Regions from separate parts of the Homo sapiens genome. Here region 2 is linked to region 1. The links are contacts of gene promoters, found by promoter capture Hi-C in human tissues and cell types (Jung and others, 2019). All regions are on one chromosome and are shown on one strand. Each heading gives the region's core, a stretch centred on a gene start or on the middle of the fragment in contact. The rest is flanking DNA. Distances are from core to core; before and after follow the strand shown. Region 1 holds the start of TFF3 (trefoil factor 3). Region 2 has its middle 14 kb from the start of RIPK4.

What was found. Contacts are between HindIII fragments. The study calls those that stand out against the background at their distance.
Region 2: a contact is called between a fragment that was not itself captured here and the fragment with the promoter of TFF3 in region 1, in 4 of the 25 tissues and cell types used here (heart left ventricle, small bowel, spleen and 1 more).

The regions. Positions count from the first base shown.
Region 1 is chr21:42,314,049-42,316,878 of GRCh38, forward strand. TFF3 (trefoil factor 3) reads right to left here and starts at 1,361. Exons shown (of 3, transcript NM_003226.4): 1 at 1,245-1,361. The coding sequence starts at 1,326. RefSeq lists an enhancer at 2,461-2,830. The HindIII fragment of the contact is 18,141 bases long and covers 1-2,830 here.
Region 2 is chr21:41,780,039-41,782,868 of GRCh38, forward strand. No RefSeq gene overlaps it. Among named protein-coding and RNA genes, the nearest start is that of RIPK4, 14 kb to the left of the region's middle. The HindIII fragment of the contact is 9,090 bases long and covers 1-2,830 here.

The DNA.
Region 1 (2,830 bases), core at 111-2,610:
TAGAGATCATTGCAACGCATGCTGCCTGCTTTTCACTTTTTTCTGCATCTCCCCTTCCTGAATTGTTGAGCATGTCCCACCCTCCCGGGACATCCTTCAGTCCCCAATATTTTCATGTTTCAGGCAAGCCTCTATGTCTGTATGTGCAGCAGAAGTTCACTGCGTTTCATTAACGAACTGAGTATTTCCTTAGGAAAATGGCAATCACGTGCAGTGTCTTACATTCCCTTCTCTTGCTCCCAGTCCGTAATTGCTTATCCTCCTGGCATCCAAACTTCGCTCACACTGGAATCAGCTGCAGAGCTTTAAAAATGACTGACGTTGGCTGGGCATGGTGGCTTACACCTGTAATTCCAGCACTTTGGGAGGCCAAGGCAGGAGGATCACTTGAGGCCAGGAGTTTGAGACCAGCTTGGCCAACATAGCGAAACTCCATCTCTACTAAAAATCCAAAAAATTAGCTGGGCATGGTGGTGCATGCCTGTAATCCCAGCTACTTGAAGCCGAGGCACAAGAATTGCTTGAACCCAGGAGGCGGAGGTTGCAGTGAGCTGAGATTGTGCCACTGCACTCCAGCAGTGAGTGACAAAGCAAGGCTATCTCAAAACAAAACAGCTGAGGCCTGGATCTTGCCTGGAGATGCCCTGATGTAACTGGTGTGCCCCAAGCATTAGGATTTTTAAAGCTCTCCAGGTGATTCTAATGGGCTGCAAGTTCGGGAACCACTGCCTTTGACCCTGCTCAGAAGACACCCAGATAAAAGCCATGCCCTCATTCCTTCAAACTTGGGTTAATGGAGCAGCCACACCCCATGGCAGGGTTGCTATGCAATGGCTAAATGAACCTTGTGCCTGCCGGTATTGACAGTGTTCTGAAGTCAGGGTTTTTCTCCTGCATCTTTCCTTTTTCTTTGTAAATGTGGAACAATGCATAAAGACCTATATTGTAATTTAGAAATCTCCAGCAAAGATGGCTATGGGGTCATAGGGGATGGGCTCAGGCTCAAACCCTGATTTCAACACAGACTGGGCAGGGCTGCCTTGGATAAGTTGTTAACTTTCTCTGAGCCTCGGTTTCCTTGTCTGTGAAATGGGGACAATAAAGACCCACTTCAAAGGGCTAGCGCAGGAAAAAGTGTATATGTGACAGGTGGCCATTATTAAATGAATGCAGAATCCCCCCTTATCCTGGATCCCTTCCCTTCACGCCCACCCTGCCACCGGGGCAGTCAGGGCAGTACTCACACAGGCCCACGTACTCCTCAGCAGAGCTGGAGGACAGCAAGGCCAGGACCAGCCCCAGCATGCAGAGCGCTCTGGCAGCCATGACCACCGTGGGCTCCGGGACGCAGCTCAGGACTCGCTTCATGGTCCAGGAGGCCTCATTTATGCACCGTTGTTTGCACAGCTGCTCTGGATTGTTTGCTTGGGGAAGGCTCTCCCTCCTGGCTGTGGCTGCTCCTGTTCTCTCCTGCATGCCTTTGTCAAGCTCCCAGACAGTTTTTCTCTCCCAAAGGGGAGAGGTCAGTTCAGCCCCCACTGTTTTGGCAGCAAGCGGTAAGGGCGGATTCCAGTTCTGGTTCCGGGTCCTCTACTGGGGAGCGGATGTGTGTCAATTGCCCTCCTAGCCTGGCCTGGTGTAGTGTGCAGGAGCCATGTGGGGTGGCAGGACCAGGGTGTGGTGTCCGTTCCATCTCAGCCTCCCAGCCAGAAGCCCTCAGAACACCCCTGGTCCCATGACAAGAGAGCCCCAGGCTGCTTCATCCCAGATCGGCCTCGGAGACAGGCAGCTCTGAGTGAGTCAGGACCCTGCGGCTCTCTCACAACTCCTGAAACACAGAGATTCCTTGTCTTTCCTTTTTGCTTTCTCCCCTAAAAATTAGTAACTACATTTTAATAAGTGGATGAAATGAATTGATTGAAAATATGTTAGTAAAAACATGGTACACATAATTGATTTTTAAAATCAAATAATACAAAAGAGCCTTTCCTATCCAGAGGCATCTATTGATCTATTGTGAACACTTTTTTAGGTATCCTTTCAGAATTTTTCTCTCTGGATCTAAGCACGTTTTTTTGGTTTGTTTTTGTTTGTTTGTTTGTTTTGTTTTTTTTTTGTTTTTTTTTTGTTTTTTTTTTTTGGAGACAGGGTCTTGCTCTGTTACCCAGGCTGGAGTGCAGTGGCACAATCTCAACTCACTGAGACCCCCGCCCTCGCGGGGCTCAAGTGATCCTCCCACCTCAGCCTCCTAAGTAGCTGGGCCACAGGCATGTGTCCAGCTAATATTTTGTATTTTTTTAGAGACCAGGTGTCGCCATGTTGGCCAGGCTGGTCTCAGACTCCTGGACTCAAGTGATCTGCCTTCCTTGGCCTCCCAAAGTGTCAGGATTACAGGCATGAGCCACTGCACTCGGCCACATTTTTAACACAAACAGGAACTGACTCTCCACCTTTGCCCAGCGTGCTCTTTTAAAAACTAAAGACTACATCTCAGGAATTGTTTTATAACAACATATCAGATGAGACAGCGATGATTCTATCCATTTTCCAGAGGAAGAAACTAAGACTCAACATTTCCGGTGCCTATCAGAGGTTACTCCAGTGTCCCTGGTATAGCTGGTATTTAACCCACTCCCAGGACCCTAAGCCTCCGCCCTCGGCATCCGCAGCATCCCCCAACCCCCCAACCTCCTGCAGTGGACTGGCTGGTAGTGGGCAAGAGACTAATCTCATTCCAGGAAAACGGGCCCCTAGATTTTGTGTTCTCCGTGTTTCTTTTCCAGGGAGGCATTTTGATGACCCCCACTGGCCCTTCCAGGAGCCTCTGTCT
Region 2 (2,830 bases), core at 128-2,627, 530 kb before region 1:
AAAATCAAATTATATTCAATAAAAAAAGCAAGGCGCAGGCATTTACATAATGAGACCCACTTCTCTTAATGTATTATATAGTCTGTAAAAGCAAAAGATGTGAAGCACCCCAAATCCCCATGGATGGGCGATGGTTGAATTATTATCACTCATCCATAGGAAAGACTGCCGTGCAATTGTGAAAATGGGAGGAGGACTGTGTCTACACGTGCCTCTGGAGTGATTGCACAGACCACTCTGAACAGAGCAAGGTGGAGGAAATCTTCCATTTTTCCAGTACAGGCAGGAAATAGGGACCCATCCCTCTGTCTATCTATTTACTATCTTTATTCCCATCCATCTATTATCTATCTATGTTTCTACCATTCATCATCTATGTACTACCTAACTACTTGCCTACCTGTTCTCTATCATCTATCTACCATCAATCAATCTATCTCTCCCTATCTGCTTCCATTCTAAAAATAAACAGTGTGAGCACAGTCCACAGGGAGGGGGCTGGAAGTCTCTGGGGGAAGACACAAGTCCTTGTTGCACATGCCCTGTTTTCTAGATTTGACTATGAAACCATGCAAATATTTTACATCCTTATAAAACACAATTAACTTTAAAAAGCAATGTCTAAATACCAAAAATAAAATAAGACAAATGAACCAAATGTGTATCCATTTGGTAGCCTGACTAACCAGAGGGGAGCTATTCCAATTGACTTTAAAACGTAGGAATTTAAAAGTAACTACTAGTGGAAAATGCACTAAGGGCAAAAAGAACAGAGAAAGAAAGGAAAGGAAGAAAGGAAGGAAAGGAAGAAAGAAAGAAAGGAGGGAGGGAGGGAGAGAGAGAAAGAGAGAGAAAGAGAAAGAAAGCAAGAGAGGGAGGGAGAAAGAAAGAGAGAGGAGAGGAGGAAAGAAAGAAAGGAAGGAAGGAGGGGAGGGAGGAGAGGGAGGAAAGGAAGGAAGGAAGGAAGGAAGGAAGGAAGGGAGGGAGGGAGGGAGGGAGGGAAGGAGGGAGGGAGGCATCTTAACCCCTTTCCCACAATCACACTATTGGCTGAGTGTTGATGTTATCCTGAGACTGCCCTGTGTGTGTTGAAGCATAAAGGAAATGTGATATAGAAACTCTATCATTAGCTCTATGGTAAAGAACTGAGATTTTTGGCATGAGAAAATAAAAGTTAAGAAGCTGTAATTTAAAAGAAAAATATTGGCCAGACACAGTGCCTCATGCCTGTAATCCCAGCACTCTGGAAAGTGGGAGGATCACTCAAGCCCAGGAGTTCAAGACTAACCTGGGCAACAGAGTGAGACCCCGTCTCCCCCCAAAATAAACAAAATTAGCGAACATGGTGGCATGCACTTGTGATCCTGGATATTTTGGAGGCTGAGGTGGGAGGATTGCTCGAGCCCAGGAGTTTGAGGCTGCAGTCAGCCATGATCACAACACTGCACTCCAGCCTGGGCAACAAAGTGAAACCTTGTCTCAAAAAAATAAAAAATCATAAAAGACAAGGAAAATATCAGCACGAAATAATAATTAAAATCAATAAAAATGGATAATGCAAGCATTCTATTAATTAGGCTCATTATCATAATGTAAATACATATTTGGGGAACTTGTTCCTCCAAACAGCAATGCTCTCTCTTCCTCCTCTACACTTTATGCCAACTAATTTTACATAAATGGGAAACTGTCATTTCTACCAAAGCGAGCTGCACTGTGTTTCTTGGGGTGAACCTTTAGGGAGACAGCCATTGTGAGAATGAAAGGGGAAATATATTATTGAAAGTTTACTTACAGTTTTTAAAAATGCCTATTTCCTCCCTGTTTTCTCCCACCCTCCAAGTTTATTAGTTACCTCTATCCACTAGCAATGGACAGATTTTCATGATTTAATTATTTTTACTATCAATTTTAAAAGTCAGCAAAACATATTTACTTTTTAACAATATATCATTTTAAAAGGGTACAGAGTTGCAGTTACATAGGACGACTAAGTCTAGAGGTCCAGTGCAGAGCCTGAGGACTGTACTTAACAATTCTGTGCTGTACCCCGGAAATTTACCAAGAGAGATTTCAGGTGCTGTCACCACACAAACACACAAAACGCAACCGTGGGGAGGTGGACATGTTCATATGCTTGACCGTAGTAACTTTGCTGTGAGTATCTCTATCAACACATCATGTTACACAATGTAAATATATGCCTTTTTTTTTTTTTTTTTTTTTTTTGAGATGGAGTCTTGCCCTTGTCGCCCAGGCTGGAGTGCAATGGCATGATCTCCGCTCACTGCAACCTCCGCCTCCCAGGTTCAAGCAATTCTCCTGCCTCAGCCTCCCACATAGCTGGGATTACAGGCGCCTGCCACCACGACCAGCTAATTTTTGTATTTTTAGTAGAGACAGGGTTTCACCATGTTGGCCAGGCTGGTCTCGAACTCCTGACCTGGTGATCTGCCCACCTCGGCCTCACAAAGTGCTGGGATTACAGGCGTGAGCCACCATGCCTGGCCACCATTTTTATTTTTAAAATGATAAAACAAAACACATTGCTGAACCAAGAAAAGAATTGAGATGATCGTGCAAATAATGATGCATACTATATTTGGGAAAAATAAAAGTTATGAAACAGTAGCAGGTCCAAGTTATATACGCAACTGTGTAAAATGTGTTCTTTAAAAATCAGGGTTTCTGTGCTTTCAGCAACCTACACATGTTCTGACTTGTGATCTCAAGGTCTGGGAGACATGTGTGGTGAAATCACACACACCTGCCCCAGCAGAGGGGTCACTGGACGTCTTCATGCGCTGCAGGGAACTCAGATGAAAGGGAC